Regions from separate parts of the Homo sapiens genome. Here region 1 is linked to region 2. The links are contacts of gene promoters, found by promoter capture Hi-C in blood cells and fetal thymus (Javierre and others, 2016). All regions are on one chromosome and are shown on one strand. The core of a region is centred on a gene start or on the middle of the fragment in contact, and the rest is flanking DNA. Distances in the headings are between cores, read along the strand shown. Region 1 has its middle 27 kb from the start of POSTN. Region 2 holds the start of CSNK1A1L (casein kinase 1 alpha 1 like).

Region 1 (4,555 bases), core at 172-2,671, 520 kb before region 2:
TAAATGGAATTATGTAGCATATAACCTTTGAAGGTTAGGGCTTTTCACTCAGCATAATTCTCTGAAAATTTATTCAAGTTGTTTGTTTATGTCTATCAAATTTTGATTCTTTTTTATTGCTCAGTTAAATTCCCTGGTGTGGATATAACAACATTTGTTTAGCACTTCACCCATGGAAGGATAGCTAGGCTGTTCCCAGTGTTTGGCTAATACAAATAAAAATGCTATGAACATTTATGTACAGGTTCTGGTGTGAACATAATTTTTATTTGTCTGGGATAGACGCCCGGAACTACAATTGCTAGGTAGTATGGCAGTTGCATACTTAGTTTTATAAACGACATGTCAGTGTACTGTACCTTTTACACACTCGCCAACAATATATGAGTGATTCTGTTTCTCTTTTTTTGCTAGCATTTTATGTGGGTAACAATTTGTATTTTACTTGTTCTGATTTCTATGTAACAATATCTCATTGTGATATTAATTTGGATTTTCCTAATGGATAATGATTTTAAACACCATTTATTGTGTTTACTCCCCATCTGTATGCCATCATGGTGACATGTCTGCTCATGTCATTTGTACATTTTCTAATTAGACTGTTTGTATGTTTGTTTTTATTGTTGACTTTTTGAGTGTCCTTTTTATATTCGAGATACCAGTCATCTGTCGGATGTGTTTTGCAAATATTTTCTCCCAGTCTGTAACTTGTCTTTTCATCTTCTTGACAGAGTTTTCAACAAAGCATGATTTTAAGATTTTAAGTCCAATTTTTCCATCTTACTTTGTATGAAAATTTGAAGAGCACTTTGCCTAGATCATGAGGATTTCATTCTATGTGTTTTTTTCTAAAGGTTGTATTCTTTTGTGTTTTATATATAATCATACTGTCTTTCCCATTTTTTCAAGTACATTAAGTAGCATACCATATTAGTTCATTTTGCATTGCTATAAAGGAATACCTTAGGCTGGGTAATTTATAAAGAAAAGAGGTTTGGCTCAGGGTTCTGCAGGCTGCGCAAGCATGGTGCTGGCATCTGACCAGCTTCTGTTGAACAAGAAGCTTTTATTCTTGGCAGAAGGCAAAGAGGTATCAGGTGTGTCCCATAGTGAGAGAGAGCACAAGAGAGAATTGCTATACTCTTTTAAACAACCAACTGTCACGTGAACTCATTACAATGGGGAGGGCACCAAGCCACTCATGAGGGAACTGTCCCAATGACCCAAACACCTCTCACTAAGCCCCAGCTCCATCATTGGGATCACAATTAAACATAAGATTTGGAGGAGACAAATAAGTAAACCATATCACATACATACAGATTTACAGAAGAAAAGTAAACTTCAGGAATAGAATCACACATGTAACGTAGAGGAAATGATGAGGGGAATGCTGACTGGCAAACATGCAGTTATTAATAGCAGTGAAATGGGGAGACAACACGAAAGAAAAATTATTTTTATGAGATAAAAACTAACCCAGTTACCCTGAAGTTGTAGCCAGACTTTTCTGAAGTTTGAAAAAAAATAAAACTCAAGTAATTTTTCAATTCTATTACATTTCTCACAACTTCTTGAACCAGATGGAGAAGCAATAAAGATGAGAAAAATTGCTCTGATGAGACTGGAAACCAGAAATAAACAAATAAATTAAAAAAGTTCAAATGCAAGCCACTTCATGAAATTCAATGGCTGTTTGAAAAAGCATGAGATTGCAGAAATATGGCATGACACCCTGTGTTTTAAAGAATATTCACTAAATTTGAAGCTTGTTAGTAGCTACCATTGAAACCACCAATCATGTATTCCGCTTTAGCTTTGACAGTGAATAATGACAACAAAAGAAAATAACCTGGGTAAAAAAAATTAATGTAATTCATTAGTATAAACTAAATCATATTAGAATAATGAAATTATAATTTTATGAGACTGTGTATAAACCATTAAACATTACAATTTAGTGTCCAGCAAAAATATAGCCATTTAATGATAAAGAGTGTGGCATGAAATTCCCATGTTAATTAAAATCATTTGTGAGGCTTGCATTAGAAGGATAATTATTTTTAATAAATAACCATAAAAATATAGACTAGAGTTTTGGCTAAGTCATTATGATATATAATACCATAATATTTTTATTCTCTGATGAAAATACAGCAAGCAATTAAATTGCTTAATCAATGGAAACAATTGGAATTCTTCTCTTATAAAATTTGAAGTTGCCACTTTTTACAAAACTCAAAGTTGGAAATTGTAATTTAATGTATGAGATAATCTGGATCTCTAATTTGGCTTTCACTTTCTATTATTTTCCATTTTTCCCCCAAATCAGAGTTTTGACTCTGTGTCAAAAAATGGAAGTAAAAAGATGAAGAATGCTTTCTATAGGAACTCACAATGTCAAGTCAGGAAAAATCTCACTTATGTTTTACATTGTAAGATCAGAAACATAGTGTTAGTCTCTGTATAGATGGTGCTTAACAGTCAGGGTTTGCAGACCACTTTTTTTTTTCTCCATCATTCATTAATGTGAAAAGAGATTACTTTTTTAAATTAGGTATGTATTTTCATTTTCTTTCAGACAGAAATATAGTAAGAAATACAGAAAAGGCACCATTTTTCATCTGACACATAGAATAAATTTATTAAATTGATGATATATTGATTATTTAGCGCCTTCATATTTTTACTCACCCACATGGTAAATTGCTGTTTGAAATAATTATTACCTCCTTTATTAACATTGATTAAGCATACACTTTGTGACACACATTGTAATACTTGCTGAGGATAAAATAATAAAACAAAAAGTTATTGAACTAAAAGTTCAATCCTATGGAAATAACAATTAAGTGTGATAACTATGGTGTCCCCGGGGAGAATCTAGGAGGGGAATCTAACCCAGTATTAGGAACAGAGAATAAGGGATGTCTGTGTTATTTCCTAAAGATAAGTAATAGTCATTCGGTAGTTGATCTTTATCCTGGGAATAATTGGGTGTCATTAAATAATTTATTACAGGAGTTTGTCATGACAAAATTCTATTTAACTACAGACAGAATGAGATGAGGAAATAATCCTCACATTTGCATGTCAAAATGAAAGAGAAGTGAGTTCTTTTAATTCTGAAAAGGAGCTTTTTGGGGATTTCACTCAATGGTGTGGAATAACCTGATTTCCAGTCTGTAGATGATAAATGGGGAATAAATTTTTCTAAAGCAAAACAAGTGACTACAATTCTAACAAGTTTTATATGTTATGTTTAAAAACTAAGTATGTTTTATACTCAATTGTAGTGAATTTTCTGGCCATTCTTAAGCATCTAAAGATTAAACATCATTTTAAACAGCTTCATTGAGATATAATCCACATACTATACAATTTCCCTACTTAAAGTGTATAATTCAATGGTTTTAGTATATTCATAGATATATGTAATCATCACCACAGTCCATTTTACATTTTCATTGCCTCAAAAAGAAACCCTGTACTTTTCATCTATCACCACCCTGTGCTCCCACTCCCACCCACCTCCATCCCCAAGAAAACACTAACTTTTCTGTCTCTATAGATTTCCTGTTCTGAATTTTTATATGAATAGAATCATATATGTGGTATTTTGTGACTGGCTTCTTTCAGAACATAATGTTTTCAAGTTTCATTCATGTCGTAACCTGTATTAGTATTTCCTTTCTCTTTATGTCCAAGTAATATTCCATTTATGGATTTATTACCCATTTCAGCACAGCATAATGTATACACAAACTTCCCAGGGGTTCTTTTTTTTCTTTTTTTTTTTTGGGTGAGACAGACTCTCGCTGTTTCGTCCAGGCGGGAGTGAAGTGGTGCGATCTCAACTCACTGTAAACTCTGCCCCTGGGTTCAAGCGATTCTCCTGCCTCAGCCTCCTGAGTAGCTGGGATTACAGGCACCCACCACCATGCCTGGATAATTTTTGTATTTTTAGTAGAGATGTGGTTTCGCCATGTTGGCCAGGCTGGTCTCGAACTCCTGACCTCAGATGAGAAGAAACTTTTAAACTGTTTTGGATTTTCTGTATATATATGCTCTAGGTTGTTATACATTAAGTAACCAATATAAGATACCTCACTTATAAATATCTACTGATAATTTCACTGATTAATGAGCAATGAGGCATAGGAAGTAGATTTAAATACGTGTTGCTATTTTTCTTATTCATAATTTTAATCTACTTAGTCATGGATTTTTTTTTACTGACATGGAACTATGCCCCCAAATTTCACCAGCTTTTAAAATCAATGCACTTCATCACTCTTATATGTGACAGTAGAAAGAACAAATGTAGCCACTTTGGAGGATTCGTGTTCAAATTACTTCCTTAAACTAGACCATAGCCAGACTAATTGGTTACATTAGTTGAAAGCGTGAGAGGAAAAGGCAAAGATGGGCTGGCCTGTGTGGAAAAACTAGGTTCATGATATTTGAAGATTAAGATTTCACTATGGATGAGAAAAAAAAAATTGAGTAGGAAGATGGTAATGAGCACAACTCTACATCCACAACCATTAGG
Region 2 (4,266 bases), core at 301-2,800:
ATTTTATTCTTGGTTATTAGAAAGGAAATTGTTCTCCAGGCAAATTTCAACAAAGTTGGATGAGTAAATGAAAGAAATGCCATTCTAGTTGGTACGGTATAAAAAGTAACTACCTTGGGTCAGAATTCAGTTTCAAATTGGCCTCTGACACTTGTCTGTAGTGTGGTCTTGGGCAATTCATCTAACCTCTCTATGCCTTGATTTCCACTTGTATAAAATGAGAAGTACAATCATAATAATAAAATATGCCAGCAGTATACTGTATTACTATCCACCTGAGGTAGGAGTATGTATTTTCACCCCACTGTCTTTGGACCTGGCCATGTGATGTGTTTTGCCCAGTGGAATGTAACATTTGCCACTCCTTTTATTATGAGAACAGCATGCTCCTAAGGAGGCTGCTCTTTCAGCCTGCATTCTAGAACAAAGAGGACACAGGAAGCAGAGATGCAGCTGATCTACAGCTTACATAAAACCTGAATGATAAATAAACTTTGTCATTGTAAGCCACTGAGATTTGCGAGTTGTTCCTGCTGCAAAGCCAAGTAATATACTGCGCTACCCACCTCACATATTTGTCTGAAGTGGACTTTAAAAATGTTTTAAAGCACTTTATAATGTTCTATGCCCGTCTATGTCTCAAACCAGCTCCTTCTCTCGCCATAGATTGATGCAGGTCAGAAAAGTTAACAGCACTAACTTATGTGAGACAGTAAAGTGAGAATACCTGCTTTCAAAGCTGCACCTCTCTCTCCTGCCTTTCTGCCATTGGCCCCCAAATTCGTTGCTACTGCCCCGTTAGGATTATACTCAGTTCCTATCCCATCTCCTCATAAAACAAAATAATCGCACGGGTTTTGTTATTTGTGATGTGAACTTTCATAAAAATATTGAAATGGTACCGCTTTTTCTGCTAGTGCTGGCCCCAGTTCTTCTGAGAAAATGCTCAGAACTGCCGGCTTCTGTTTCTTCTCCATATTTTGGTTAAATTTTACTTGAATCCTTCATTTAGTCAGTTTTGCCAGAACGTCTCTGTGGAATCCTATTTAAATTCAAAGCACTCTATGAAAAAATTTCAAAAGGATCGCTTTAAAAAAAAAAAAAAAGACATTTCAATTTAACTAGCAGTAAGTAACTCTTGTTGACTAAACTCATTAAAGAAGCAACCACTGAGATCACACAGAAAAACCTCAAGAGGTGGCACCCCGACTCGCATTAACCCAGGGAGACATGATGGCTAAGGAAGTAGATGGGACAATGACTGGGCCCGAAAACAAGAAAATCTTTGTTATAAAAGCCTCCCATTTCTGCACGATTAAGTTGAAAGAAGGTGAGCTTCGAGTTAAGCCTAGGCAGTTTTGAATTCCAGCTCGCCCACAATCTCTTGCAACCTTAGGCCGCTTACCTGAGACTCAGCCTTTCTTACCCAACAAATCAGGGAAAATAATAGCTACCTTACAAGACTAGCAAGTTTGTCTTAAATGGAGTGAGATGAGTGGAACACCTAACAGAGGTCTCAGACAATAACAGCTTCTCCAAAAATTCTCGATTTGTGGTTGGCTGAGGTGGAGGAACAAAATGGCGGCGCCGGCGGCGTGACCGGGCCCTCTGGCCCACAGCCGTTGGTAGCGGTGGCAGCAGTACTGCTGCCCCAACTCGCTGTGCCCCCTTTCTCAGCCCACGACATCGCCACGACAGCGAGGCAGCGACCGCCACCGAGAAAGAGGTGGTGGCCCAGCCTGGAACCTTGAGAAACCCTCGCAAACTGTGGCCTGGCGGAAATCCTGGTGTGCTGCAGGGATCAGGCTGACTCCACGCCCTGTAACACCGGGAAACGCCTCGGTGGCCATTTCCAGCAGCCCTCATCCTCAGCCTTGCGGGCCGGTGGGCCCCGGAGGCCTCCATCCTCCCCTAGAGGGGTCAGGGCTGAGCCCAGCCTCCATCTTTGCCTCTCAGGATGACAAACAACAGCGGCTCCAAAGCCGAACTCGTTGTGGGAGGGAAATACAAACTGGTGCGGAAGATCGGGTCTGGCTCCTTTGGAGACGTTTATCTGGGCATCACCACCACCAACGGCGAGGACGTAGCAGTGAAGCTGGAATCTCAGAAGGTCAAGCACCCCCAGTTGCTGTATGAGAGCAAACTCTACACGATTCTTCAAGGTGGGGTTGGCATCCCCCACATGCACTGGTATGGTCAGGAAAAAGACAACAATGTGCTAGTCATGGACCTTCTGGGACCCAGCCTCGAAGACCTCTTTAATTTCTGTTCAAGAAGGTTCACCATGAAAACTGTACTTATGTTAGCCGACCAGATGATCAGCAGAATTGAATACGTGCATACAAAGAATTTTCTACACCGAGACATTAAACCAGATAACTTCCTGATGGGTACTGGGCGTCACTGTAATAAGTTGTTCCTTATTGATTTTGGTTTGGCCAAAAAGTACAGAGACAACAGGACCAGGCAACACATACCGTACAGAGAAGATAAACACCTCATTGGCACTGTCCGATATGCCAGCATCAATGCACATCTTGGTATTGAGCAGAGCCGCCGAGATGACATGGAATCCTTAGGCTACGTTTTCATGTATTTTAATAGAACCAGCCTGCCGTGGCAAGGACTAAGGGCTATGACAAAAAAACAAAAATATGAAAAGATTAGTGAGAAGAAGATGTCCACCCCTGTTGAAGTTTTATGTAAGGGGTTTCCTGCAGAATTCGCCATGTACTTGAACTACTGTCGTGGGCTGCGCTTTGAGGAAGTCCCAGATTACATGTATCTGAGGCAGCTATTCCGCATTCTTTTCAGGACCCTGAACCACCAATATGACTACACATTTGATTGGACGATGTTAAAGCAGAAAGCAGCACAGCAGGCAGCCTCTTCCAGTGGGCAGGGTCAGCAGGCCCAAACCCAGACAGGCAAGCAAACTGAAAAAAACAAGAATAATGTGAAAGATAACTAAGCGTGAATGAGGAACAGAAGAAGCAGAGCAGATGATTCGAGCAGCATTTGTTTCTCCCCACATCTAGAAATTGTAGTTCATATGTACACCAGCTAGTGGCTGTGAACAACCATTTAGTTGGTGTAAAAAACTTTATTTCAATATAAACTGACTCTGGGGAGCGTTGGTGATGCTGTATCCCAAAGTGTAGCCTCTGTAATTGTGAATATTAACTGAGGTAGTGAAACGTGGTGTCTGGTTTTCTATTGCATTTATTCAAGTAGAAAAGTTAACTAAATGGTTGACACACACGAATTGGTGGAGACATTGTCCATATGCCAATTTTTTGTTAAAACCTTTTATTTTGAACTAGACTGCTTTGAGATATCATTTCAGAAGGACAGTATTCAGCCACAGCTGCAAAGGTTGTAAATGCTTATGATTGAGCATTTTTAGGGTTTCTCCATCCCTGGGGTTTGCAAATTGTTCACATAAAGAGCATTCTTAAAATGGTTGGCTTCTTGTCTGTAAGCCAGCTGATCTAGTAGTAACCAAAAATTCCAGTTTTGAGAATAGGAAAGATTCCGCCTGCTTACCTGTGAAGACATAAGAAAATCTTAGTAACTACCAGATTATCTTTAGAATTCCACATTAACTATATCATGTTCTCGGTATTTTAAAAACAACAACAACCATATTTGTCACAGAAATTTAGTTAACATCTTACAACTGAACATGTATGTACATGGCTTAGATAAATGTAATCACCGTAAACACCCATATGATCTGGGATTTTGTTCATATTTTGAAATGGGAGCTTTTATGTTTTACAAGTTCACTAAAATCTGAAAACTGTTTCTATAAGGAAATAATACTTTTTTAAACAACAACCAAAAAATGCCTTGCTGATTCACTAGGAAATAAAAATCTCCCCAATTTTTTGATAGTCAACTTCGAGCCATTTGTTACATGATATTCCCTTGCAAGTAAATTTTATTTCATTATATAACTTTTTTCAATGTTTTTATTCTAAAATAATCGTTTTGTATGAAGGGGAAATGTATTCTTTCATTTTTCTTTTTCTAATGACTTGTGGTAAAATATCTAGTACTGCACCTGCCAAAACTTGGTATTGTTACTTCTTCCACTGACTAATAGCTGGGCTGATTTCAAATAAGAATGCAAGCATTGAAGGGTTTGACTACAAAACATTGTTGTTTAAAATACTTGTGAAATGGCTATAAGCAGTTGACTTTTACCCTTGGAGAGCACACTGTGAGGTTCTGTGATCATTGACCCTCCCTAACCCCCGTCTG

What was found. The method cuts DNA at HindIII sites, captures the fragments that hold promoters and counts their contacts. A CHiCAGO score of 5 or more calls a contact.
Region 1: a fragment that was not itself captured here is called in contact with the fragment with the promoter of CSNK1A1L in region 2 in 1 of 17 cell types (endothelial precursors); the score reaches 8.3 in endothelial precursors.

What each region holds. Positions count from the first base shown.
Region 1 is chr13:37,623,304-37,627,858 of GRCh38, reverse strand. No RefSeq gene overlaps it. Among named protein-coding and RNA genes, the nearest start is that of POSTN, 27 kb to the right of the region's middle. The HindIII fragment of the contact is 705 bases long and covers 1,069-1,773 here.
Region 2 is chr13:37,102,948-37,107,213 of GRCh38, reverse strand. It overlaps CSNK1A1L (casein kinase 1 alpha 1 like), which reads left to right and starts at 1,550. Exons shown (of 1, transcript NM_145203.6): 1 at 1,550-3,955. The coding sequence starts at 1,958. The coding sequence ends at 2,971. The HindIII fragment of the contact is 4,821 bases long and covers 1-4,266 here.